Linked DNA regions of Homo sapiens: all the other regions are linked to region 3. Evidence: promoter capture Hi-C in human tissues and cell types (Jung and others, 2019). All regions are on one chromosome and are shown on one strand. The core of a region is centred on a gene start or on the middle of the fragment in contact, and the rest is flanking DNA. Distances in the headings are between cores, read along the strand shown.

Region 1 (3,878 bases), core at 645-3,144, 390 kb after region 3:
GCTGGGATGAATCTTCCTTTTAACAAGGAGAGGGCAGGAGGAACTCAGCTCTTGGAGGGGCAACAGGACCTACCCGGGCTTTATAACATTGTTTTAGTTTTATTTTTACTGTTGCCTTCTAGTCTCTGAGATACTGGTGTTCCATTTAGGGTAGCAATACAAAGTTTCTCTGAAAAATACATTTGTGATCATGGAAAAGCCAACATAAAGCAAAAGCATTAAAAGTATTACAAGTGGGCCAGGTGCCGTGGCTCACATCTGTAATCACCACACTGTGGGAGGCTGAGGCGGGTGAATCACTTGAGGTCAGGAGTTCAAGACCAGCCTGGCCAACATGGTGAAACCCTGTCTCTACTAAAAATACAAAAATTAGCCATGGTTGTGCATGCCTGTAGTCCCAGCTACTCAGGAGGCTGAGGCAGGAGAATCACTTGAAACCAGGAGACAGAGGTTTCAGTGAGCCGAGATGGTGTCACTGCACTCCAGCCTAGGTAACAGAGTGAGTCTCTTCTCAAAAAAAAAAAAAAAAAAAAAAAAAAATGAGTATTACCAGTGGAGAAAGGGTCCGCATTCATTCTTTTTTTTTTTTTTTTTTTTTTTTTTTTTGAGACAGAGTCTGGCTCTTGTCACCCAGGCTGGAGTGCAGTGGCATGATCTAGGCTCACTGCAACCTCCACCTCCTGGGTTCAAGTGAGCATGTCCAGCTAATTTTTGTATTTTGTAGAGATGGAGTTTCACCATGTTGGCCAGGCTGGTCTTGAACTTCTGATCTCAGGTGACCTGCTTGCTTTGGCCTCCCAAAGTGCTGGGATTACAGGCGTGAGTGCTTGCCTGGCCTCTTGTTTCCGTTTTAAGATGGGAGAAGTAACAGCCTGTGATGGGAATGACCCAGGGAGAATGGAGAGAGGGCAGGGTTTCGGGATCAGTGTTGGCGTGAAGGGTCGGGATCTTCTGGAGGGGGTGGTCGTGGCCAGGAGCTGGACGGGTTCAGCCCGGTCCCAAGAGGGAAGGGACTGGGTGCTACCTCAGCGGGTGGGTGGGGGAGCTGGTGGGAATTTTCTACTGATTCCTTCATTCGAAGTGTATTTATTGGGCACCCATTGAGTGCCAGGCTCTTTCTCAGGGCTAGGATAGAGGTTCCATTTTCTCAGTGGCTTGGGCACTGGGTCATCAGCTGAGTGAGAGGATGGGCGTCAGCACTCAAGAAGTCACCCAATGGTTTCATTTTTTGCAGTCTTTGTTGTCCCAGAGGAGTAAGAACTAAAAGCACCAGGACTGTGACATGCTGGAAACATGGCATGTTCCAAAGAGAATAAAATACAGTTTTATGATACACGAATTGTGTGTGATACATTCCAATTTCTCACATTGAACAAATTACCAATAGCAATATGTGTGAAGATGGGGCGAGGTGAGAGTGAGGAGGAGGAGTAGAGAAAGGACGGGGCGGCGTTAAGGATACAGCAAATAACTGGAATTCCGCAAACACTGGGGTGATGCAGGCAATGCCCTTAGCACGGTCCCGGCAGGAGGCGGTGGGATCAGGCCGACCCGGGTCCCAGGGGTGACAGCGTCCCTTCTCCACTGCAGAATATCGAGGTACTCAACCCTCTGAACCTCAGTTTTCTCATCAGTTCAATGGGGAAAACGGGATGGTAACCCGTAATACTGGCGGCGCGGAGGCCGGGGAGCGCTCCCTACCTGTTGGCCGGCGGACTGGGGACTGTCCGCACCCGCCCCGGGGAGCAGCGAGGGCGCGCGGGCGGGGTCGCGGGGACCCCGCAAGGGCTCTGGGGACCGGGACCCGCAGGGTAGGTCGGGACGGGCGGGGCGGGGCGGCCTGACCCCGCCCCGGGCCGGAGGGGCGGTGCTGCCTCCCGCCGGGCCCCAGGCACTGCCCTCCGGCCGCCGCGCCGCCCGCCCGCCGGGGCCCCGCTGTCCGCCGCCCGCCGCCGCTGGAGCTAGAGGTACGAGGGGCCGCGCCGATGTTGCGGGGGACGGGGGCTCCAGGGGGATCCTGCGGCTCGCAGTGGGGAGGAGGCGCCTCGGGAAGGCAGGGGCAGGGGCGGAGGGGCTGGGCCGCCGCCCTAGCCCGGGCCACCTGTTCTGGAGGCGACATTTGTGCGCGCACGAACCCCGCGCGGCGGTCCCGGCCACCGCCTCCACCCCAACTGCGCCCCGAAGTGGAGCGCGGCGGCGGGACCCGGAGCCCCGGCCCTCGCGGGCAGGACGCGCCTGGCTCCGGAGCCCTCGAGGGCAGCCCCACCCGGTTGGGTCCCGGGGCTGGAGAGAGGGCGTCGGGGAGAAGCCGGGTTCGAGGCAGGCTCTGCCCGGCCACCGTGGGTGAGTCGCGCTCCTCCGTCCGGGGGAAGCCTGGGCGTCGGGCGGTGCTCGCCCCGGAGCGGATGCGACCGGGGACGGGGATGGAGAGCGGCCGGCAGGAGGGGGCTCTGCCGGGCTGGCAGCGTCGGCGCCGGCCTTAGGGAGGGTGAGGATTTGGACCTGCCCAGAAGCGGGAAGGGCCCTCCCCGTGCGGGAAACGGCCTGGGTACGAGCTGGGCACGGGGCGAGCCGGTTGGAGTCGCCCGGCCTCCGCGCTCGCCTCGGATCCGCAGGCGCCCCTCCCTCCTCTCCAGCTGGGGAAGGTTGAGGACTGAGCGGGAGCGGAACTGGGCTTGGGAGAGGATCTGCCGGGGCACCTGGTCCCAGCGCCCATCCCGTTTCACTGCCAGGGCGAGTCCCCTTCCCTCAGTTTCATCACCTGTCATCCGGAGGGACAAGTTCCCACCTGGATAGTCTCGGCTGAGCCTCTGGCCCTGAGTGGGTTAAAGCGCCATTTCCCCTGCACCCACCTTTCCCTCACGACACCCTCTCTGCGGCTTCCTCCCCTCCGCCAACGTCGAGTGATTGTTCCGCGAAGGCCCCTTGGGGTCACGTACCCTGCACTCAGCAAATAACCCCGAGCACCTGGTGGGTCTCAGGCCAGGTCTGGCCTTCCCGTTCCCGCCACCAGCTGCCCAAAGACTTCCCCTTTGTCACCTCCTCCCAAAGAATGAGGGAGCCACCCTGCCCAGGGTCCCATAGCAGAGTGCGGATGGAGCCAGGCCTCCCTCAAGATTTCCCACAGCCCTCTTCCAGCCTCAAACCTTCTCCAGGACCCGAAACCCTGCTACACTGTGTTTCCATAGCTGCAACCCCCCAAAAGAGGGTCCCCAAATCAAAGGAATACAAAGGAAAACAAAATAGAAAGGAAAAGAAAGGAAGAGGAGAGATGGAATCCTCTCTGTCATTAGTTTTCTGTTTGTTTGTTTTTTAGGGTCTCCCTCTGTCACCCAGGCTGGAATGCTGTGGCAGCTCACTGTAGTCTCAAACTGCTAGGCTCAAGCGATCCTCCCACCCCAGCTTCCCTAGTGGCTGAGACTGCAGGCACACACCACTACACCCAATGTTGTCATTAGTTTTTCTCTCAAACATTTTTCTAATGCCTTGGGTGCCTGTCGTTTCTTGTCTGCTAGGACAGCTCAGTATTAGAGGATAAACTCCAAAATGGACAGCCATCTACAAAATATGTTTTGTTTCCTTGTACTAATTGAAGCCCTCTAGCTGCTAGGTTAATGGGTCCATTAATTTCCAGTTCGTGTGATGGGCCCTGGGACCCCAGTGTGGAGCAGGATTGGCAGAATCTCCAGGTGGTTTGTGTGGAACACCAGGAGGTTGTGAACTACCACATCAGCCCCAGCTAGCAACTCCCAAGCCCACCTGGCCACGGGGCCACTGGGTTCAGACCTCCAAGGATGCAGTTCAGCTGGGGATGCAGGTCCCGGAAGGTGGTGGCAGGTGGACGGCCTCCACCACCAAGCCAGCCATCTGAGTTCTGA
Region 2 (3,751 bases), core at 821-3,320, 360 kb after region 3:
CATCTGAGGACACGGCTGGGACAGGCCCCCACCCCTCGTCACCTGGCCTTGCACTGTGTTTCAGCATCTGGGGTGGGGGTGTTCCATGGGCAGATACGAAGTCTCACAGTTTCCTAACAGGAAACGTGGGGCGTGGAGGCCTTCTTCGGGTCCCAGTCCACTGGGGTTAAGAAGAAGGGCTTGGGGCCAGGCACAGTAGTTCATGCTTGTAATCCCAGCACTTTGGGAGGCCAAGGCGGGCAGATCACTTGAGGTCAGGAGTTCAAGACCAGCCTGACCAACATGGTGAAACCATGTCTCTACTAAAATTACAAAAGAAATTAGCCAGGCGTGGCCAGGCGCGGTGGCTCATGCCTGTAATACCAGCACTTTGGGAGGCAGAGGCAGGCGGATCACAAGGTCAGGAGTTCAAGACCAGCACGGCCAACATGGTGAAACCCCATCTCTGTTAAAAATACAAAAATCAGCAGGGCGTAGCCGGGCACGGTGGCTCACGCCTGTAATCCCAGCACTTTGGGAAGCCGAGGCGGGTGGATCACTTGAGGTCAGGGGTTCGAGACCAGCCTGGCCAACATGGTGAAACTGACTCTACTAAAAATACAAAAATTAGCTGGGCATGGTGTCATGCGCCTGTAATCCCAGCACTTTGGGAGGCCTAGGCGGGCAGATCACCTGAGTTCAGGAGTTCGAGACCAGCCTGGCCAACATGGTGAAACCCCGTTTCTATTAAAAGATGAAAATTAGGGCTCTTGGAGGGGAATCAAACACAGGGAGTAGCTCTCCCTCTCCCTGTCCCTGTCCCTGTCCCTCTCCCTCTCCTCATGGTCTCCCTCTCCCCATGGTCTCCCTCTCCCTCTCTTTCCACGGTCTCCCTCTCATGCCGAGCCGAAGCTGGACTATACTGCTGCCATCTCGGCTCACTGCAACCTCCCTGCCTGATTCTCCTGCCTCAGCCTGCGGAGTGCCTGCAATTGCAGGCGCGCGCCACCACGCCTGACTGGTTTTCGTATTTTTTTGGTGGAGACGGGGTTTCGCTGTGTTGGCCGGGCTGGTCTCCAGCTCCTAACCGCGAGTGATCTGCCAGCCTCGGCCTCCCGAGGTGCCGGGTTTGCAGACGGAGTCTGGTTCACTCAGTGCTCAGTGGCGCCCAGGCTGGAGTACAGTGGCGTGATCTCGGCTCGCTACAACCTCCACCTCCCAGCCGCCTGCCTTGGCCTCCCAAAGTGCCGAGATTGCAGCCTCTGCCCGGCCGCCACCCCGTCTGGGAAGTGAGGAGCGTCTCTGCCTGGCCGCCCATCGTCTGGGATGTGAGGAGCCCCTCTGCCTGGCTGCCCAGTCTGGAAAGTGAGGAGCGTCTCTGCCCAGCCGCCATCCCATCTAGGAAGTGAGGAGCGCCTCTTCCCGGCCGCCGTCACATCTAGGAAGTGAGGAGCGTCTCTGCCCGGCCGCCCCGTCTGAGAAGTGAGGAGCCCCTCCGCCCGGCAGCCGCCCCGTCCGGGAGGGAGGTGGGGGGGTCAGCCCCCCGCCCGGCCAGCCGCCCCGTCTGGGAGGTGAGGGGCGCCTCTGCCCGGCCGCCCCTGCTGGGAGGTGAGGAGCCCCTCTGCCCGGCCACCACCCCGTCTGGGAGGTGTGCCCAACAGCTCATTGAGAGCGGGCCAGGATGACAATGGCGGCTTTGTGGAATGGAGCGGGGGGAAAGGTGGGGAAAAGATTGAGGAATCGGATGGTTGCCGTGTCTGTGTAGAGGGAGGTAGACATGGGAGACTTTTCATTTTGTTCTGTACTAAGAAAAATTCTTCTGCCTTGGGATCCTGTTGATCTGTGACCTTACCCCCGACCCTGTGCTCTCTGAAACATGTGCTGTGTCCACTCAGAGTTAAATGGATTAAGGGCGGTGCAAGATGTGCTTTGTTAAACAGATGCTTGAAGGCAGCATGCTCGTTAGGAGTCATCACCACTCCCTAATCTCAAGTACCCAGGGACACAAACACTGCGGAAGGCCGCAGGGTCCTCTGCCTAGGAAAACCAGAGACCTTTGTTCACTTGTTTATCTGCTGACCTTCCCTCCACTATTGTCCTTTGACCCTGCCAAATCCCCCTCTGTGAGAAACACCCAAGAATGATCAATAAAAATAAATAAATAAATAAATAAATAAATAAAAAAGAAAATTAGCTGGGCGTGGTGTTGTGCACCTATAATCTCAGCTACTCGGGAGGGTGAGGCAGGAGAATCACTTGAACCTGGGAGGCACAGGTTGCAGTGAGCCGAGTTTGTGCCACTGCACTCCAGCCTGGGTGACAGAGTGAGACTCCATAAAAAAAAAAAAAAAAAACAACTCTGTGAGGCCCACACTGTAAGGAAGCACAGAAGTAGCAAAGGCTTTGCTGAGTATTGGGAACCTACCCTGGGCAACAAGCTCAGACCTGCCTGGGAAGGAGCTGTGCCCAGCAATGATGCAATGATGAAATGATGCTTTTTTTTTTTTTGAAAGGCATGTGCCACCATGCCTGGCTAATTTTGTATTTTTAGTAGAGACGTGGTTTCACCATGTTGGCCAGGCTGGTCTCGAACTCCTAACCTCAAGTGATCCACCTGCCTCGGCCTCCCAAAATGCTGTTATTACAGGCATGAGCCACCGCGCCCAACCAGTGATGCTTATTTTTTCTGCCAGTGGTGAGGCTGCGAACACAGGGACCATGGGAGTGGGAGCAGCCAGCCTGAGGACGGACAGTAGTGCAGGGGCACCCCCACCTGGCATGGGAGGTTAAGAGCCAGCCACCAGGCCTACATGGCTGGGGAGGGTGGATCCCTAGCTGCCAGGAGAGGGTGGTGCCACTGGGGAGGCCACAGAATGTCCTCTTCGAGTCCCTGAGCCTGCATCCTGCAGGCTGCAAAGCGCAGTTGCCTGGAGTAGCTGGTGCCGACTGGGATAATAACCAAGCGCTTCTCATTGCTGTGGGGGCATCTCTCTTTCCCATCCCAACAAAGAGGCCAGGCCTTCGGCTCGCTTGTCTCTGGGAAAGCAGACAGAGCGGGCAACCAGATCACAGCCTCCCTGGCCAGCACCCACACACCCTGGAGTGGCAGAAACTGGGGCTCCCTCAGAGGATTAGGCTGGGGCAAGCAGGAGGGCAGTGGGTTAGAGGCAGGTGCAGGCGGAGGGGAGGGATTGGCAGCCTCCCCACCTAAGCCTCGGAAGGGATGAGGCCCCTCCTAGCCTCAGATGGGAGGACCCTGGGAATGTAGCTGCAGGGGAGCCCAGGATAGCCAAACCCTGGAGATAGGGGTCCCAGGGAAACTCCTTATAAAATTTATAAAATTAATCAGGGGCTCGGTGCAATGGCTCATACCTGTCATCCCAGCACTTTGGGAGGCTGAGGCAGGCAAATCACTTGAGGTTAGGAGTTTGAGACCAGCCTGGTCAACATGGCAAAACCCTGTCTCTACTAAAAACACAAAAATTAGCTGGGTGTGGTGATGGGCGCCTGTAATTGCAGCTACTCGGGAGGCTGAGGAAGGAGAATCGCTGGAACCAAGAGGCAGAGGTTGCAGTGAGCTGAGATTGCGGCACTGCACTCCAGCCTGGGCGACAAGAGCCAGATTCCATCTCAAAAAAAAAAAAAAAAAGTAATCAGGGAAGAGGAGGGAAAAACGGAAACAAGCCAAGCTTGCAAGCTACTCAGCATGAGCTCTGAGAGCAGCCTGCTCTCTGACCAGCTGCCTCACAGCCATGCAGTGCCTGTGGCGGCC
Region 3 (3,600 bases), core at 291-2,790:
GAGGCCGAGGTTGCAGTTAGCCGAGACGGCGCCATTGCACTCCAGCCTGGGCAACAAGAGCGAAGCTCTGTTTCAAAAAAAAACAAAAAGAAACAAAAAACACCCAAACTGTGCCATTCCTGAGAACTTATTCCAAAGGCGTGCCCAAATTAAGTAGAAATCGGGGTGAGTCTTAACTCCAGGGAGGCTACTAACTTGAGAGGGGCTTTCACCTGGCCAGAAACCTCAGGGATACATTTTGCAGAGTGAACAGAACAAACTGAGGTTCAGAGAGATGGAGTGGCCCTTCCGAGGCCACAGGGCTGGAGAGTGGAAAGAGGTTTTGGCTTGGGTTCCATAAAGGGCCCTTGGCTTCTAGCTAGACAACCCTGGCATTTCTGTGCCTCCTGGGACTGAAATCTCTGTTTCTCCACCTGGAAGATGAGGCCTCCTGCTCCCAGGGGCAGACAGATGTTAAGAACTTCCCGGCGCTAGTGCCCACCAGACTGCGCTCCTCCTAATGCGGGGACATGAGGCTGACACCAATGCTCCCTGGGAAGCTCGGGCTCCCAGACCACAGTAAACACTGCGTTAAAACAGCAACAAAAATGTTACAATAGTAAGAGCTACAACAGTAACATCAACAACCACGTCCTACCCCACGAGTGGCTCATTCTAGCAAAATTGACAATGAAGGGCTTGAAAGCGATCGCATTTAGGAGGCCAGAGCCCAGACGACGACCAGCTCCGAACCCCACAAGCCTTGTCGTGACCGCGCCCCGCAGGCGGGGGGCCCCCTCGCGGGTCACCCGCAGGGGCGCACCTCCAATTTACCAAACAAGGTCGCATGCCCCAGCCGGGCTCTAGTCCCCGCCCAGTCTGGGGCGCACCTGTGCAGGGCGCGTGGGCAAGCGAGGGCGGGCGGCTGCGCGCCGCTCCGTGTGCACGTTCCTGTTCCGGACTTTCTGGGCGTCCCGTTACGAAGCCTTTCCTCGGCCCTTCCTCAGGTGCGCAGCGCCTCCGGGAGCCGGTCCCGGCGGCACCGGGCACGACGCCATCTTCCCTCTTTTAAGGGCACCGGGGCTGTGCGGCCGCGGCCGTGGGCTGGCGTTGCCGCGCTACGGTCTGGCCGGGTCCGCACGACCCCAGAGTTCGGAGCCGGGTGCCCGGAAGCCGCACTGGAGGACTGTGCGGCGGCGATGGGGCGTCCAGCCGTCGCGGCGAGACGCAGAGGGACCACCCCATTGCACAGGCGCGGAGACTGAGGCCCGCAGGGGCCGCGCCTGGCACGATCGCCCGTCGGGGACCTGGAGCCCCGGACAGAGAGGGTACGTTTCGGAGCCGGAGTCCCGAGACGTCGCCCCGCCAGCGACTTGCTGGAGCGGTAAAACCTGGGCACGGCTCCCCACACTTCCAGCCGCTCGGCACCCGGGCCGCGGCCTGGGCGCTAACCGCCGGGCTCGAGCTGGGCGGAGCAGCGGGCGGCAGCAGGGTCGGGGGCACTCACCTGGCGGCGGCGATGCTGGCAGCGTCTGTAAGCCACCCGGGAGGCTTCGTGTCTGCGGCCCGGCTGCCGGCGCGGGACCTAATAGGCCCGGGCGCCCCGCCCCTCCCGCCCCGCCCGGGTCCCGCCCCTCCCCGGGAGCGGCCTCTCGCACCCCGAGCGCGGAATCCCGGACTGGGGTCTGAATGGCATTGGCAACAGAACCGCTACAAGTGCAGCCCGTTGGCTTGTTTACAGCCTCTCTGCCCCCTGCTGTTCTGCAAGCTTGTTTTGTCCCGTGCGTCGCTGTTTCCCCTGCGCCCAGCACGGGCGTGCACTCAGGGGTTTCCATCAATATCGGGGGGATCGATCCATTGACAGAATCTGGCCCTTTACACGGATGGCCTCCGTTCGAGCTCAAAGTACTCCTCGGTGCTTTTTTTCACGATCATTTTACCCACGTGGAAACCGAGGCTCCAAGAGGACGAAATGACTTAAATGACAGCGTGAAGCCAGCGTTCAAAGACGTGTGCTCCTTAGGCTGGCAGCTTTGGGATTTAGGTGTTTTAAAGCCTATTTCACAAATATGAAAACCGAGGTTCACATTTGGTTAGCAGCAGCATCCAGTGATCCATACCCGAAGCCAGGGGGCTGCCCCTCCACTGCCGCCCGTCCGCAGCCTTCCAGCTGCATGACACACCCACTGCCTTCCCCCTCCCGTCGGGGCTCCGGGTCCGCGAGAGGCGGGCGGGACTGGGAGGGATTGGGGGCAGGGGGCTCACGTGCAGACCTGGTGAGACGGACCCCACAGCGCCTGGCGGGGCGAACAGAGAAATCAGAAAGCTTCCAGGCGGGGTGGGCGGGTGGGCAGCCTGCTACGCGGGGATGGGTAGGACCTAACTCCAGCCCTGGGGTATATTGGGGGTGGGAGAAGGCAGAGCGCTCCTGGAATAACAAAGTAACAATTGTCCTGGGCACGGCAAAGCTTGTTTACTTCTGTCTTGATCCCCTCAGAGATTAGGGGAGGGGCAGGGACAGGGGTTCCCCTCCCCCAGCTCTGTCGTTTGCTACCTGTTGGGTACCCTCACTCTGTTCTTCCCACCTCTAGGGTAATTACTTCCCCTTCAATGTTCTCATCTGTGAAATGGACAACAGCACCTACCAAGAGCTGGGCTGTTGGGAGGAACAGAGGAGGTAAAGTGTGATAAAGTCTTCAGAGCCCCTCCCGCCTTCCGGGCTCTGGACCTTCTTTGCTTTTGTGGGGTTTTTTTGTTTGTTTTTGTTTTTGTTTTTTTGAGACAGAGTCTAGCCCTGTTGCCCAGGCTGGAGTGCAGTGGCACAATCTTGGCTCACTGCAACGTCTGTCTCCCAGGTTGAAGCAATCCTCCCGCCTCAGCCCCCCTAGTAGCTGGATTACAGGCGTGTGCCACCATGCCCGGCTAGTTTTTGTATTTTTAGTAGAGACGGGGTTTTGCCATATTGGCCAGGCTGGTCTTGAACTCCTGACACCAGGTGATCCACCGGCCTCGGGCTCCCAAAGTGCTGGGATTACAGGCGTGAGCCACCACTCCCGGCCCTGTAGTCTTTTCTTCTAGGGCCTCCAAACTACATCAACCCCTACAAAGCAGCTCGCCCTGACTGTGGCTAACAGCCACAGAGTGCCTTACAGTCAGGAGCAGGGAACCCTTCATAATGGGGGCTTCCCTCTGAATGCATTTTGCAGATGAAAAAATTGAGACTCAGGGAGGTAAAGCAATGACACGGGGTCTCATGGGTCCGAAAGACCTGATATATGTGAGATGCTTGCAGAGGGGTCTTAAGGCTGGAGGCACAGTGCCAGGTATGTAGGAGATGTTCAGTAAACATTAGCAGAAAAGATGGAGAAAGAAGGACCGTTTGGGGACACTGGATGATTCAAGGGCAGAGTGGGTGCAAATACAGTACTTATTTACTTTGCAAAATCCCAAGACAATATGCTGATCAAAAGGAGGAAGAGATGGCTGGGCATGGTGGCTCACGCCTATAACCCCAGCACTTTGGGAGGCCAAGGCAGGTGGATCACCTGAGGTCAGGTGTTTGAGACCAGCCTGGCCAACATGACGAAACTCCATCTCTACTAAAAATTAAAAAACTAGGCC
Region 4 (3,877 bases), core at 207-2,706, 450 kb after region 3:
AGTCAGTGATGCTCAGGGCTGGGTACTATGATCTTCCTCCAGGTGTCAAGGAACTTGCAGGAAATCGTCAGGCCAATTCGGGCTGCCACGACGAAGCAAGTGAGGCTCATAAAAGTAGTCACCCAGCCAAGATTTGAACTGTGGTCTCTCTGAGGATAAACTCATGCTCTGTCAACTACATCAGGGGGTTTCAAGCTTTCTCCCAAAGGCCTTGCCCTGTGAATACCAGGAAACCCATAAAAGTCCCAGATCTCAGATGAGGATAGAAATACATGCCATCATTTGCATGTTACAATGCAAAACCTGTGGTACTCACCTGCTTCAGCAAGCAGGATGGTGTGTGGATGCCCTCAGACCACTCCAGTCTGACCTGGGTACGTCGGAGCAGCTGTGCTGGACCTCCACCCTACAGGCACTTTTGCAGTGTCATTCATTCAACCATTATTTATTGAGGGCCACCATGCTCCGGGCCCTGGCATGGTGGACTGTACGCAGGGAGGCAGCCTGGGCACAGGGAGGCAGCCTGTGTACAGGGAGGCAGCCTGGGTAGAGGGCGGCAGCCAGTGAGGCCAGACTGCCTGCATCTGCAGCACGTTCACCTGTGTGATGCTGAGTGTGTGAATTACTGGTCTGTTTTCTCTTCTGTGGGATGGCAGTAACATAGGCTTTCTCCTCCCAGGGTGGCCAGGAGAAATGGATGAGTTAAGGCACGTACACAGTGCCAGTCATATAGCAAGCAGTCTCATTTCTTTTTTCTTTTTCTTTTTTTTTTGAGACAGGGTCTGGCTCTGTCACCCAGACTGGAGTGCAGAGGTGCGATCTTGGCTCACTGCAACCTCCGCCTCCCAGGCTCAAGCCATTCTCCCACCTCAGCTTCCCACGTAGCTGGGACTACAGGCATACACCACCGTGCCCGGTTAGTTTTTGTATTTTTTTGTAGAGATGGGGTTTTACCATGTTACCCAGGCTGGTCTTGAGCTCCTGGGCTCAAGGGATCCACCTGCCTCAGCCTCCCAAAGTGCTGGGATTACAGGCGTGAGCCACTGCCCCAGCCTCTCATTTCTTTATTACTATTATTTGATAACTGATGGATGGATTTAATTACAAAATTGTAAGATACACAGGAAAGGCCATGGTTAAGCCCATTTTACAGATGAGAACAATTGAGGCTTGGGCCATTGAAAAAGGTTGCTGGGAATAGAGTAGGTAGAATTATTCCCACTTTATAGACAAGTAGACTGAAGCTCAGGGAGTTAAGTCACCAGCTCAAGGTCAGTATCAGTGTCAGAGCCCAGGCCCAGGCCCCTCCGGCCTCAGTAACAGCCCCCTCTTTGAACTCTGAACTAATGGGGCAGTGTTTCACAGAAGGCACAGGTGGCCTCAGTGACGGGAAAGGCCCAGGAGGACAGGTGGCCTGAGATGGCTGAGGTCCTGCAGCAGCGTGTACTCCTCCAGCTGAATCGGCCTGGGCCTCACCTCCTTGGTCCTCACCTGCTCAGACTCTGCAGGAAGCTCCCTGGGAAACGGTTCAACCCAGAGTTTGTGCTCAGAAAACCCATCTTCCCACCGCCACTGGGCTCAGCACCTAGGCCTGGCTCCATGGCTGACAGCGATTTATTTATTTATTTACTTATTCATTTGAGACAGAGTCTCGCTCTGTCAGCCAGGCTGGAGTGCAGTGGCACAATCTCAGCTCACTGCAACCTCCGCCTCCTGAGCTCAAGCGATTCTCCTGCCTCTTCCTCCTGAAAGCTGGGATTACAAGCATGTGCCACCAAGCCCAGCTAATTTTTGTATTTTTAGTAGAGATGGGGTTTCACCATGTTGGCCAGGCTGGTCTCGAACTCCTGACCTCAGGTAATCCGCCCACCTTGGCCTCCCAGAGTGCTGGGATTACAGGCATGAGCCACTGCGCCTGGCATTAATAGGGATTTAAACGCGTAGACCCCCAACACCCCTTCCTCACCCAGCAGCTCCCAGAGCAGCCCCTAGCTCCTGGCTGGATTAGAGGCACCTGGCACTGTGCCTGAAATCAACACCTCCTTTGGGTTTTGGGTTCTCATTAGCCAGAACTTTCTCATGAAATAAAAATGATAACCTGAGGGAAAACTGTTAAAAGTTTGTAATTATAGAAGGGGAGGAGCTCCTGTCTTTCTTTTGTTTTGTTTTGTTTTGTTTTGTTTTTTGAGACGGAGTCTCAGAGTCTCGCTCTGTCACCTGGCTGAAGTGCAGTGGCATGATCTCTGTCGACTGCAACCTCCGCCTTCAGGGTTCAAGCGATTCTCCTGCCTCAGCCTCCCAAGTAGCTGGGACTACAGGCATGCGCCACCACGCCCAGTTAATTTTTGTAGTTTTAGTAGAGCCAGGGTTTCACCATGTTGGCCAGGATGGTCTCGATCTCTTGACCTCGTGATCTGCCTGCCCCAGCCTCCCAAAGTGCTGGGATTACAGGCGTGAGCCACCGAGCCCGGCCAAAAGGACGCAGACTCTGTTTTGAAGGAGGAGGTGGAAAGGGATGGAAGAAACTTCCAGAGCGTGCCGTTTTCTTTGTGACAGGCTCTGTCCTCGGCAGGGGCAGGCGTGACCTCTCTGAGCCCATGAGCGGGAACTGTTTTTGCCCTGGACACCCTGGGATGGGCCCTGCCATGTTGCCCAGGCTGGACTTGAACTCCTGAGCATCCCCTGCCCCGCTGCCCTCTCGGCCTCCATTCGGGAGCTTCACATCCCCCTCCCCTCACCCCCACGAGTCCTGGGGGGCCAGCTGGGAGCTCTGCGGGGAGTAACCCCACGAGGGCAAGGCAGGGGAGGGCGCCGCCCAGCGCCCCGTGGGGCTTCCGCCGCCTCGAGGCAGACCCGGATCCAGAGGGCGCCTGGACAAGGTAGGGCCCCCATCCCGCCCCGGCTCCGCGTGCCCTCACAAGAATCACCCGTCTCCGACCGTCACCTCCTCCCGCTCCCGGGCCTCCCCGGCAGCCCCCACGACCGTCCACCCCGGCCCGCCCGGCCCGGGCTCCCGCTCTCTCGGCCGCTCTCCGCGGAGCCCCGCAGCCCAAGGGGCAGCACCTATCCCGGGACAGCGGCCTCTCTTCCCCACCGAGGCGTCTGCAGGGCTCCCCGTAGCGGCGCGGGGCTCGGGGACACGGACTCGAAGGAACCTGAACACCTCCAGAGCGTGGAGGTTGTGGGGGATGAGCCCCAAGAGGCGCACCCCTCCCAGGCTGCCGGGACCCAAGGTGGGCACGGGCTGGGTCCGAGGAAGGGGTAGAGGAGGCAGGATTTGGGGCTCGGCTGGAGCAGAGCAGCGGCAGAACCCCCAGCCGAAGCCGGTGGGAGTGGAGATTTCGGATGGAGCCGGCTGGACCCGCGCCCCGGGCGCCGGGAGCCTTTTCCTGGCTCGGGCGCGCCCCCTGGAGGCCGGAACCTGACATCAAGCGCACCCAAATTGCTGGGACTACAGACCTGGCGACAGTACCCAGCCCATCCTACTCAACTGCAAATGCCCCCTTTTACACTTAGGTCTATTTCTGGACGCTCAAAGATCCATTGAGATCTATTCTGCATTGGTTGGACAGAACCAGTTTTCTTCATCTACAAATAATAATACAACTCTCCTTTTTTTTTTTTTTTTTTTTTTTTTTTTTTGAGACAGAGTCTGGCTCTGTCGCCCAGGGTGGAGTGCAGTGGCGTGATCTCCGCTCACTGCAGCCTCCGCCTCCCGGGTTCAAGCAATCTGGGATTACAGGCATGCGCCACCACTCCAGGCTAATTTTTGCATTTTTAGTAGAGACAGGGATTTCACCATGTTGGCCAGGCTGGTCTCGGACTCCTGACCTCAGGTGATCCTCCCCCCTCGGCCTCCCAAAGTGCTGGGATTACA
Region 5 (4,028 bases), core at 1,415-3,914, 310 kb after region 3:
TTAGGCCCCCTTGCACCACTCTTGTGCCTTACACTGAGGGCAAGACCATGCGAAGACCGTCTCCCCCAGTGGACTGTCAGTTCTCATTTCTGTGCCCTTGGCGCCTGACAGCCTGGCAGAGGAAGCCCTCTGCAGGTGTTTGAGGATGAATGGGTGGAGGGGTGATGAATGACCCCAAGGAGCTTGCTGAGTCTGAGCACCTGCCCACCGGCCAACATAGGCTGGAACACGCCTCCCCCTACCTCCCATGTCCCATGGCCAGTGCCAGGCTGCAGGGGCGATGTGTTCCGCCTCCAGCACAAGCCTTAAGAGCTGTGCGCATGTTGCCATGTTTCTTTCCCTGTCATAGTAGGCAAGGAAGCTGGAATTAAGAGGTGGCCCCATGGGCTTGGACCGCAAGTGACTGTGATGCACAGAACCCCCTGCCCACCTGCACTGGGCACAGCAAACATCAGTTGTGGGTGGTTGTTAGCTCAGAGTCACCTGGCCTGTCCTGACCCATCCAGGGCATTTGCCCCAACCACAGACCACTGTGTAGCTCAGTGTCCCCTCTGTCTCAGAGAGGGGAGCAGCTGTCTTCTTCCTGGCTGCCCAAGCAGAAACCTGGGAAACATCCTTAATCCGCCTGCCTCTCAGCCTGCCTAGGCCAGTCAGTCAGTGTGCCTCTTGACACCTGCCTCCTGAGGACGCTCAGCCCGTTCCCTCCTGATCCCCACTGCCGCCTCCTCATGCTCAGGCACCGCCCCATGCACCTGGACCCCTGCAGCCACCTCCCAGCTGTCTACCTGAGTTTGCTCTGTGTCCCCTCCAGATGACACAGGTCACACTTTAGTGATGTTATCAGTTAATTGTCTGCTTTCCCCAGTAGGTGGTGAGCTGTGGAAAAGCAGGTCTGTAGCTGTGTCCTCAGTACACACTGTGGGTGTTCTGGGAAAAGATAGGGAGGAGAGATTCCCTGGGTCAAGGACGCTCTTCCTGAGCAGGTGGCTGGAACTGTCATTTCCTGGAGCTCATTGTGTAACCTGAGCACACTAGGGCTGTCTTTGACCATGGCCACCCGGCCCCTCCAGCCTGCCCAGGCAGCCCTCAGAGGAGACACAGCACCCCAGTCCCATCACTGTGTTGGAATTACACTCTGTCATTGGTGAAGGCCTACAAGATTTTAGACAGTCAGCTGGAGGTGGAGATGGGAGGACCTGCATCTGTGGTGGGCATGGGAACAGTGCTGGGGGCAAATGCAGTGTCTCTTCCAAGGGACACGTTGCAGGGTAACTTGTCAGTTCTGTTTTATTCTCAGAGAGGGACTTGACCAAGGCTTTCTGTTTTTGTTTTTGAGATGGGGTCTCGCTCTGTCACCCAGGCTGGAGTGGGGTGGCACAGTCTTGGCTCACTGCAACCTCCACCTCCCAGGTTCAAGTGATTCTCCTGCCTCAGCCTCCCAAGTAGCTAGGGTTACAGGTGTGTGCCACCATGCCCAGCTAATTTTTTGTATTTTTAGTAGAGATGGGGTTTCACCATGTTGGCCAGGCTGGTCTTGAACTCCTGACCTCAAGTGATCCTCCCACCTCAGCCTCCCAGAGTGCTGGGATTACAGGCGTGAGCCACTGCGTCTGGTGGGTTTCTGTTTTGTAAGGAGCAGGTGGTGTCATGTGGGGCTTAGGGAGTAGCTGGGCGTGGCTACTCCTGAGGACCTGCAGGGTTTGTGTTGAGCTCACTGAGCCCCTCCAGCGTCTTATTACAATTGTGACACAGAAGTTTATGAACCCCTGATTGTCAGCTCTAGGAGTGTGGTCAGACCTCCTTGATGTGTGATAACCCTGATGAACTTCACCCAGATTGGTAGCAATTATGGTGATGTTTACATCAGGGCAACCAAAACTTAAGCAACTAACACTTAACAAAACTAACAACTAACAAAACTTAGGGCCACTAACACCGGCCCTAGCAAAGAGGGTGGAAGTGTGAACTTCTGTACCTGGGAAGACTGGCAGTGGAGCTTGGCTTCTAAGTCACAGTCAGACAGCATCAGTGATGCATCTATTTGGCTCACCTCCTTGGGGGAGGTAACAAGCTTCCTCCATACCCCAAGCGAGTGGGAGGGGCAGTCGTAGTCACAGATGGCTGCTGCTTTGCTTTGTCCCTGCCAATAACCCCAGAGCAAGCAAATGGCTCTTCTCATTTGAGGATACATGAATCCCTGGGAAGGCTCTGATTGGTCAGGCCTGGGTCATGTGCCCATGCCTGTGGACAGGGTAGAAGGGAGAGGTGGTTCCTGGAGGAAGGGAGGAGTACTGTTACCAAAAGAGGGAGGAGGTGATGAGAAACAGGCCATCCGTGTTGGCCCATCTGCCTTTTGCTGGGTACTTACCTGCCAGGGCTATGTTAAGCACCTTGAGGAAATGGGCCCAGAGAGAGCAAGGAACTTCTCTAGAGGCACACAGCCTAGAAGTGACAGTGCCAGGATTTGAACTCATAGTGGTGTTAAGTCCCCCATACTACATTTTCTGTCGTGTGGATTCTCTCATGTGGATCATGGCAGGGCTGCCACTTCAGCCCGAGTCTCCATCCCACTGTTGGGCCCCTTGTGAGGCAGCAGGAGGGGAGAGATCCGGGTTCTCTGGAGCCGTTGAGCACTCTGGGTACTGGGTTTGCCGCAGCTGTGGCCAGGGCAGTGATGAGACAGTGTCTGCTGTGTGTGTGCAGGGAACTACAGCCTGTCCAGTGTGCTGCCCAACGCCCCCGACATGGCGCAGTTCAAGCAGGGAGTGAGATCGGTTGCTGGAAAACTCTCCGTCTTTGCTAATGGAGTCGTGACTTCAATTCAGGTCAGTGGAATGGGGCAGTGCTCACTGGCTATGACGGTAGGTTCAGCAGTTTGAAAATGAGACCTGCTTCAATCTTCAACTGCTGGAAAATTCAATTATATATTATTGGATCGATATGTTTGCTACACTATAACCCAGAACATTATGAAAACCAGAAATTATAATTTTATATTTAATATTTTCTAACGGATGACTCTAGGGGAATTGTTAGAGGAATTGTCATGACCATTGTCCAGTTTTTTTCCTAGATTGGAACAGAGAAGTATTAAGAAGAAAACTGAAATTATCTGTAATGCCACATCACAGGGATAACCTCTGTTAATATTTTGGTATATTTTTAGCTCTAGATTTCTAAGGATATTTTTCTATACGTAGATTAAAAAGATATACATATCTATCTTTTTAAAGTTAAAAAGGGATTATATTGTATAGAGGGTTTTATATCTTGCTTTTTCTCTGTGATGCTGGGAGCATTTCCTTGTAATGAAAAGTTTTCCTAAAACCACATTCTATTGAGTGAAAACATAAGCCAAGGATGGCGCATACTTGCGCATGAGAGTCGAGGCCATCTGTGACGATATGAGTGGCTCGTTTCTTTGCACCTTCTTGTTTACGTCAGGCTATTGAAGAAGGATTGTATTAATGTAAAACGCTGCTAAAGGAAGTAGGACTGAAACCGTGTGGACTCTGGTGCCTCCAAAGGAGATTCCTGGTCCCCAGGCAGATGCTGCTCTAGCTGCAGTTCAAGGAGGGCGTGGAGGTGCACCCATTCCGGAGAGTTCCCTCAGCCCCAGGACTCTGGATGTAGCCGTTTTCATGCTGTGAATAGCACAGTCTTCCCTTTCATGTGGCACTGAAGTTAAAATGCATAGAGCTCTTTCATGTCCCTTAGGTCAGCTAAGCCCACATCAGTGTCCAAATAGGTAACATCCCTATTTTATAGATGGTCATCCCCATTTTAGAGATGGCTCCCTTTTATATCCCCATTTTACAGGTGAAGGAATTGAGGCACAGAAGGTTAGGTCACTTCTGCAAGATGACCAGCTGAACCAAAATTTCAGGGCTTCAAACACCAAATGTGTTCCTTTGTCTTCCGTTTCCCACTTGCTTCCCAGAGGGCTCAGCAAGTTGCCTCTGGCCCACTGAGCATCCTCCCGCCCACTTTGCTCCCTGCCTCCTGATCCCAGGACTGTGGCCGTGGAT
Region 6 (3,946 bases), core at 1,447-3,946, 340 kb after region 3:
TTGGATATTTGTGGAGACAAATATGTCTGATGAATGACCTTGGAGGCCCAGAAAAGAGAATGGCTAGAACTGGGGATTGCAGCAGGGTCAGCAGCCGCAATAGCCACGCCCAAGGGCTGCAGAGTGAGGCAGCGGCAGAAGCAGGTGCCTGCTGGGCTTGGGCTGCCCGCCCTCCCCAGGGTCCCCCCAACCTCCGTGCTTCCTGCCTCGTGGTGTTGTGTCTGGGCAGACTTGTCTTCACCACACCGCATCAGCAGGAGTGTGTAGTGGACACAGACGGTGTCTGCTCATGTCTGCCTGGTTCCCCGCCGCTGCCAGGCAATGCCAGCAGGAGTAGATAAGGGTGTGACAGAGGCTGGGGCCAGCCCTACAGGGGGTTGAGGGAACAGGGGACAGGCACGGCTGCCCTGGGATTCCCTCCCAGAGGAGGGGCTGCTCTCCAGACCTCGTCCTTCCACAGAGATCCGAGGTCTCTGCCTGGGTCGGGCCATCGGAGACTCTGTTGTATCAACTGTGATGTCATGTTCTCCAGATCCTTGTCGGGCCAGGCTCAGGGTCTAGGCTCAGGGACGGAGGCTGCAGGGACGGACAGCAGGGCCACATGAGGGCTTGGCGGTCCAGGAGGCCTTCTGAGGGCAGGGCCCTGGGGTTGCATTTTGGGGAGAGGCTGCCACAATAGAGCAGGAGGAGCGGGGATGGGGGTGGCAGCATGTGCAAAGGCACAGCACTGGGGGTAGGGCTGTTGTTTAGCCAGTTGGAGTACCCAGGAGATGAGATGAGAGGGGCAGGTGGGCCTCTGCTGATGGGCTGGGGGTGGAGGATCGGCTCAGCCAAGCGGGGAGCCTGGAGTTCTCCTACAATTGTAGGGCCCTGTGCCTACTCCCACCTCTGCTCCTCTTTCAGCCCCACCAAGGCCTCTCCAGGGGATCTCACAGGCTGCTCCCACTCACCCCATCCTCCTGTCCCATCTCTAGCCTTGGGTTGCCTGTGCCTGGAGAGGGGAGGAGAGGGGAGGGGAGGGGAAGAGAGATGAGGGGAGGGGAGGAGAAGAGAAGGAAGGGGAGAGGAGAGTAGAGGGGAGGGGAGGAAAAGAGAGGGGAGGGGAGGAGAAGGGAGGGGAGGGGAAGGGAGATGAGAGGAGGGGAAGGAAGGGAAGGGGAGGAGAGGGGAGTGGAGGGGAGGGGACATGAGAGGAGGGGAGAGGAAGGGAAGGGAGGGGAGGGGAGGGGAAGATGTGTAGGTCAGTCTCCGGGAGGGTAGGCTGCTGTGACAAGATCCCACAGACTGGGGCTTCAGCAACAGACTTTTATTTTCTCACAGTTCCAGAGGCTGAAGTCCAAGATGAAGGCGCCATCGCGGTTGGTTTCTGGTGAGGCCTCTTTTCCTGGCTTGTAGGTGGCCCCCCTCGCACATGGCCTTCCTCTGTGTGTGCAGAGGGGAAGGGAGAGCTCTCCGGTACCTGTTCCTCTTCCTGTGGAAGGGCCCTCCCCTGTGTCCTTCTAACACCTTATCGCCAATACAGTCACTCAGGGGATAGGAATATTGAAGATGGGGTTGGTGATGTCACAGTTCCATCTGTAGCAGTGTCCGTAGGAAATTCCCACACTGGGGCCGGGCACGGTGGCTCACACCTGTAATCCCAGCACTTTAGGAGGCTGGGGCAGGCGAATCGCTTGAGCCCAGGAGTTCAAGAACAGCCTGGGCAACATAGCGAGACCTTGTCTCTACAAAAAATGCAAACATTAGCTGGGCGTGGTGGCACATGCCTGTGGTCCCAGTTACGTGGGAGGCCGAGGTGGGAGAATCACTTGAGCCCAGGAAGGCAGAGGTTGCAGTGAGCTGTGATTGTGCCACTGCACTCCAGCCTGGGCAACAGAGCGAGACCCTGTCTCAGAAAAAGACATCAACAAACTTCCCACACTGGGAGAGCCTGCTCCAGGCTGGGGCCTGGACTCGACCGGTTGCTGTGTGGTCGTTCCGTCTTCCAGAAACCCTCCCAGCAGGTCATATTCCCATTTCACATGGAGGGTGAGTGAAAGGCAGCCCTAGGTGGCTCTCTCTAACTCCAAACGTATGAACGTGGGTTTCCCCAGCACCGTCCAACCCCAGGCCTCACTGGGACTCCTTCCCAAGCTTTCCATCTGATGCTTTTAGGGCCCAGCAGCCACAGGTGTCTCAGGGAGGATGCTGGGCCCAGTGCTGGACCCTGCCAGGCAGGCTCCCTCAGCCGTGGGGCGGGTGGCCGGTCCCATCTGGTGGGCCCATTCCCCCTGCCTGAGTGCACAGATGTGTGTGTGTGTGAGTTTAGTGTGTGTTCTTGGCCCATTCATCTTTCAGCTTTTGTGTTTTATTATGTAATCATTTTGCATGAGTGCTTAGTATATGAAAGATGTTAGTTAATATTTGTTAAACAAAACACATTTTGGATCTATCGATTAAAAAAGAAAAAGGTGATAACGACAATCCAAGGACCAGGTGGAAACCGGTGAAGGCTGGACTGAGGGCTCAGGCAGTGGTGCGGAAAAGGTACTTATTGTACTTCTGTTCTTGAGATGAAGCCAGTGAGGGCCAGGGGATGTTTCTGAACCTCTGCGCCAAGAGGAATCGGGTCAGCAAAGAGAGAGGAGTGGGAGACAGAGGTTCGTCTTACACACACAGCCTTTCCCAGGAACAAATTCTCTCTTAAAATGCAGCATTAGGAAATCACCTCAGAGCCGGGCGCAGTGGCTCACGCCTGTAACCCCAGCACTTTGGGAGGCCGAGGCAGGGGGGTCGCTTGAGCTCAGGAGTTTGAGACCAGCCTGGGCCACACAGCAAAACCCTGTCTCTAAAAATACAAAAATTAGCCAGGCATGGTGGTGGGTGCCTGTAATCTCAGCTACTCAGGAGGCTGAGGCACGAGAATCGCTTGAACCCGGGAGGTGGAGGTTGCAGTGAGCCGAGATCATACTCTAGCGTGGGTGACGGAGTGAAACTCCGTCTCAAAAAAATAAAGATAAAAATAAAAATTGCACCCCTCCCCAGCTGAGCATGGTAACTCATGTCTGTAATCCCAGCACTTTGGGAAGCCAAGGCAAGAGGATCTCTTAAGCCCAGAAGTCTAAGACCAGCCTGGGCAACATAGTAAGACCCCATCTCTACAAAAAACTGGGGAAAAAAAAATTAGCTGGGCATGAAAGTATGCACCTATAGTCCCAACTACTCGGGAGGCTGAAGCCAGAGGATCGCTTGAGCCTGGTAGGTCGAGACTGCAGTGAGCTGTGATCGTAACTCTGCACTCCAGCCTAGGCAAGAGGGCGAGACCCTGTCTCAAAAATAAATAATTGCGACCCTCCCCCACGCAGCTGCTGCTTGGCTCGGGAAGGAGCTGACTCTCCCCACTGATCCCGGAACGTCCCGCTCTGCGTGGTTACGTGGGCTCAGAGACCATTGTTTGCACTGCGTCCCGGGATGGATTTACACAGGACCACGTGCCTTCTGCTCCCTCCCACTCCCGTCCGCGTTCCCTGTTTGTGGTTCTTATCATTTTGCTCGCGTGAGTCATTGGTCTCGCCGAAAACAGGAGCACAGCGGAGGTCACGCCAGCTGCAGCCCAGCACGGACAGACGGATGGCGGCAGCCAGACATCAGGGGCTCCTCGGCTTCCCTCTGCCCGACACCTGTGCTGGTCCCGCCGGGTCGGCGGGGTCCTGCAGGGGCGCTGGGCAGAGAGGGTGCCGCCCAGCCGGGCTGAGAACCCACCTGTGCCCTGTGCCCTGTGCCCTGAGGCCTGCTCCTGGGCTGTGGGGGCCCCGTTCGCCCCCGCACCGGACATGACCTCTCCCACAAGCTCTCACTTCCTCTCCGCTGCCCTGTGGCTGTCCTCCTTGTCGCACGGTTGGCTGCCCTTGTCTACACCACGACGCCCTGCTTGGGAAGGCCCCTGTTTGTCCAGGCACCCAGGGCC
Region 7 (3,673 bases), core at 568-3,067, 500 kb after region 3:
CTCAGGATAGCATTAGGTACCAGTTGCAGTGCTGGCCTGCCCCTCATGTTGGTTTTTTCCTTTATTTATTTGAGACAGGATCTTGCTCTGTCATCCAGGCTGGAGTGCAGTGGCAAGATCACAGCTCACTCCAACCTCTGCCTCCTGGGCTTAAGCAGTCTTCCTGCCTCAGCCTACCAGGTAGCTGGGACCACAGGCATATGCCATCATGCCTGGCTAATTATTTTTGTATTTTCTGTAGAGACAAGGTCTCGCCATGTTGCCCAGGCTGGTTTCGAACTCCTGGACTCAAGCAGTCCTCCTGCCTCTGCCTCACAAAGTGCTGGGGTTACAGGTGTGAGCCACTGTGCCCAGCAGTTTCTTCCTTTAGATATGAGGGCATCCCCAGTTAAGTCAGTTGACATGTCCGCTTTTGTTAGTTCGATGAGTTTAACCCTCAGCGGATAGCTTTCTGTCAGCTGCCTCCAAGCAGTTCAGTGTGGCAGCCTTGAATGTGCTGGAGGCTGGAGTTGAGCAGCTCTCTGGGCCAGACGCCTCATCTGGGGAGTCCTTGGAGCTGGAAGTGGGAGGTTGTTGGGGGACAGGGTGGATTGTAAACTTTGCAGTTCAGCCCAGGACTCTGGTCCTGGTACTGACTGCTTGTTTCCTTGTTGAAATAAGATAAAGGAAATAAAGACCTAAACACAAAAGGGAGGAAATGAGTTATTACATAACTCTAGGGAACGAATTATGTTTTAAAATGAAACATCTGCACAAGACTCTTGGGTAAGGGGATAGTATTTTATTTTATTTATTTATTTTTGAGACAGAGTTTTGCTCTTGCTGCCCAGGCTGGAGTGCAATGGCGCGATCTCAGCTCACCGAAACCTCCACCTCCTGGATTCAAACGATTCTCCTGCCTCAGCCTCCTGAGTAGCTGGGACTACAGGCATGGGCCACTACGCCCGGCTAATTTTTTGTATTTTTAGTAGAGACAGGGTTTCACCATGTTGGCCAGGCTGGTCTCAAACTCCTGACCTCAAGTGATCCGCCCATCTCAGCCTCCCAAAGTGCTTGGGATTACAGGCGTGAGCCACCTCGCCCAGCAGGGGATAGTATTTTAGTGTCTTGTTTTTCTTTGTGTCTCTTAAACACCTAATTCAGAGTTGACCCTCAGTCATAGTTAGAATTAAGCTGTTTTCTCTCTATAAAAATGACCTAAACACACACCTAAACGAACACCCCCTAACCCAGAAGCTTTTTTTGTTTGTTTTTATAAGACGGAATCTTGCTCTGTCACCCAGGCTGGAGTGCAGTGGTGCGATCTTGGCTCATGGCAACCTCTGCCTCCCATAACCCAGAGGATTTTAAACCCATGGGTTAAAATCTGCTTTATAATAATCCAGGGCCCCACTTCATGGGCCTGAATCTTTTGGACTGGACATCTGTCCAGAATGGGCTGTAGCCCTGCCCTCCCCAGACAGAGCCAGGAGGGTGAAATATTCCTATAGCCCAGACAGACCCTCCCTGGTCATCACACCTATGCCAGGTTCCCGTAGGGGGTATAGAGGAGAGAATTTGGGGTCCAGGGAACGTTTGCCTTCTCACCTGCCAGCAGCGCTCTTGCCAGGACCTCGCGGAATACCTGGTGAAGCCCTGGAAGCAGTTGCAGAGCTGTAGTTTCGGTGCGATGGAGGTGGGGCATTACGAGACTCAGTCAAAACCTTCCTCCTTCGCCCTCCCAAACATTTACTGAGGATAAAAGTGCAGGATGTGTTTTGGGAACGTCAGTAGTCACTGCAGTGGGGAGTAAGGCTGCAGCCATAAGCTGGAGCCAGAGCCGAGGCCCCCCCAGGGGTTGGGCTTTGTAAAGGAGCCCCCAGCAGTTCTAGAAGCGGGAGGGTAACATAATTGAGTCTGTGTTTTAGAGACCTACCCCTGGCAGGAGTGTTGATTTGAAAAATTTCCGATGACTAATGCCTGCCTGAAACCAGTACTGCTGCCTGCTGGGATGAATAGCTGTCTTTTCATGCAGGAAGAGCAGCTGTGATTATAAAAAGCCTGAACACTGAAGCCCCCTCAAGCTGTTCACGAAAGAAGTTGAAAGCACTGGTGGAACCAGGGAACTGAGTGCATCAGATTGAGGGAAATAGCTTACTCCCTCCCACCGTGAGGAGCTCCTACTACATCCTCAACTACCGTTAACTCCCACCCCTAAATGTGCCTTTTAGGCTGTTCAAATAGATAAAAATGCCAGCACAAAGCATCTTGGTGGTCCTTCCTGCCAGGCAGGCATTGTGGTATGCGAGTTCTCAGTGCGTGCACCACCCGCTCGCCTCGCTGCTTGTGCTCACCCTTTGGTCGCTAGAGAGTGCTCCGTATCCCTGGGCATGACCGGAGTCCTAAGATTTCTTCAGCCTGCGGACTGTTTATCCTTCCTTTATATATATGTATAAATTTTTAAGGGTTTAACAACATATTGAAACTGAAATACCAGACAATAATGATAAGGAAGATTGTTTCTTTTTGTTTTGGTGGTGGTGGTTTTTTTTTGTTTTGTTTTGTTTTGATTTTTGAGACAGGGTCTTGTTCTGTCTCCCAGGCTGGAGTCCAGTGGTGTGATCTTGGCTCACTGCAGCCTGGACCTCCTGGGCTTAGTTGATCCTCCTGCCTTGGCCTTCTGAGTAGCTGGGACTACAGATGTGCATCATCACTTGCAGCTAATTTTTTTTTGGGGGGGGGGGTAAGGTTATAGATTAACAGCATCCCAAGGCAGAAGAATTTTTCTTAGTACAGAACAAAATGAAGTCTCCCACGTCTACTTCTTTCTACACAGACACAGTAACAATCTGATCTCTCTTTTCCCCACATTTCCCCCTTTTCTATTCGACAAAACCGCCATCGTCTTCATGGCCCGTTCTCAATGAGCTGTTGGGTACACCTCCCAGACGGGGTGGCGGCCGGGCAGAGGGGCTCCTCACTTCCCAGACGGGGTGGTGGCTGGGTGGAGGCGCCCCCCACCTCCCGAACAGGGCGGCTGGCTGTGCGGGGGCTGCCCCCCACCTCCCTCCCAGACGGGGCGGCTGCCGGGCGGAGACGCTCCTCACTTCCCAGACGGGGCGGCTGCTGGGCGGAGGGGCTCCTCACTTCCCAGACGGGGTGGCCGGGCAGAGAAGCTCCTCACCTCCCAGACGGGGTGGCGGTCGGGCAGAGACACTCCTCAGTTCCCAGATGGGGTCGCGGCCGGGCAGAGGCGCTCCTCACATCCCAGACGGGGCAGCGGGGCAGAGGCTCTCCCCACATCTCAGACGATGGACGGCCGGGCCGAGACGCTCCTCACTTCCTAGATGGGATGGCGGCCGGGAAGAGGCGCTCCTCACTTCCCAGACTGGACGGCCGGGCAGAGGGGCTCCTCACATCCCAGACGATGGGCGGCCAGGCAGAGACGCTCCTCACTTCCCAGACGGGGTGGCAGCCGGGCAGAGGCTGCAATCTCGGCACTTTGGGAGGCCAAGGCAGGCGGCTGGGAGGTGGAGGTTGTAGCGAGCCGAGATCACTCCACTGCATTCCAGCCTGGGCAACGAGCACTGATTGAGCGAGACTCCGTCTGCAATCCCGGCACCTCGGGAGGCCGAGGCAGGCAGATCACTTGCGGTCGGGAGCTGGAGACCAGCCCGGCCAACACAGCGAAACC

The links. The method cuts DNA at HindIII sites, captures the fragments that hold promoters and counts their contacts. A contact is called where the count stands out against the background at its distance.
Region 1: the fragment with the promoter of A4GALT here is called in contact with the fragment with the promoter of BIK in region 3 in 2 of the 25 tissues and cell types used here (lymphoblastoid cells and mesenchymal stem cells).
Region 2: a fragment that was not itself captured here is called in contact with the fragment with the promoter of BIK in region 3 in 3 of the 25 tissues and cell types used here (dorsolateral prefrontal cortex, pancreas and thymus).
Region 4: a contact is called between a fragment that was not itself captured here and the fragment with the promoter of BIK in region 3, in 1 of the 25 tissues and cell types used here (lymphoblastoid cells).
Region 5: a fragment that was not itself captured here is called in contact with the fragment with the promoter of BIK in region 3 in 1 of the 25 tissues and cell types used here (dorsolateral prefrontal cortex).
Region 6: a contact is called between a fragment that was not itself captured here and the fragment with the promoter of BIK in region 3, in 1 of the 25 tissues and cell types used here (H1 embryonic stem cells).
Region 7: a contact is called between a fragment that was not itself captured here and the fragment with the promoter of BIK in region 3, in 1 of the 25 tissues and cell types used here (spleen).

The regions. Positions count from the first base shown.
Region 1 is chr22:42,718,886-42,722,763 of GRCh38, reverse strand. It overlaps A4GALT (alpha 1,4-galactosyltransferase (P1PK blood group)), which reads left to right and starts at 1,894. Exons shown (of 3, transcript NM_017436.7): 1 at 1,894-1,967. RefSeq lists silencers at 1,795-1,984, 2,015-2,244, 2,325-2,454. The HindIII fragment of the contact is 38,593 bases long and covers 1-3,878 here.
Region 2 is chr22:42,748,348-42,752,098 of GRCh38, reverse strand. No RefSeq gene overlaps it. Among named protein-coding and RNA genes, the nearest start is that of A4GALT, 29 kb to the right of the region's middle. RefSeq lists an enhancer at 2,965-3,526. The HindIII fragment of the contact is 7,860 bases long and covers 1-3,751 here.
Region 3 is chr22:43,108,690-43,112,289 of GRCh38, reverse strand. It overlaps BIK (BCL2 interacting killer), which reads right to left and starts at 1,540. Exons shown (of 5, transcript NM_001197.5): 1 at 1,487-1,540. RefSeq lists silencers at 671-890, 1,421-1,590 and an enhancer at 915-1,473. The HindIII fragment of the contact is 22,290 bases long and covers 1-2,026 here.
Region 4 is chr22:42,661,678-42,665,554 of GRCh38, reverse strand. No RefSeq gene overlaps it. Among named protein-coding and RNA genes, the nearest start is that of CYB5R3, 14 kb to the right of the region's middle. RefSeq lists silencers at 2,809-3,088, 3,129-3,178, 3,309-3,448. The HindIII fragment of the contact is 5,947 bases long and covers 1-3,877 here.
Region 5 is chr22:42,797,836-42,801,863 of GRCh38, reverse strand. ARFGAP3 (ARF GTPase activating protein 3) reads left to right here. Exons shown (of 16, transcript NM_014570.5): 15 at 2,704-2,825. Among named protein-coding and RNA genes, the nearest start is that of ARFGAP3, 57 kb to the left of the region's middle. RefSeq lists an enhancer at 2,027-2,321. The HindIII fragment of the contact is 4,920 bases long and covers 205-4,028 here.
Region 6 is chr22:42,769,723-42,773,668 of GRCh38, reverse strand. No RefSeq gene overlaps it. Among named protein-coding and RNA genes, the nearest start is that of A4GALT, 51 kb to the right of the region's middle. RefSeq lists an enhancer at 3,921-3,946 and a silencer at 3,903-3,946. The HindIII fragment of the contact is 5,875 bases long and covers 1-3,946 here.
Region 7 is chr22:42,607,304-42,610,976 of GRCh38, reverse strand. All of the region lies in intron 1 of POLDIP3 (DNA polymerase delta interacting protein 3), which reads left to right. LOC124905127 (a long non-coding RNA gene) reads left to right here. Exons shown (of 2, transcript XR_007068118.1): 2 at 2,015-2,242. Among named protein-coding and RNA genes, the nearest start is that of POLDIP3, 5.7 kb to the left of the region's middle. The HindIII fragment of the contact is 5,591 bases long and covers 1-3,673 here.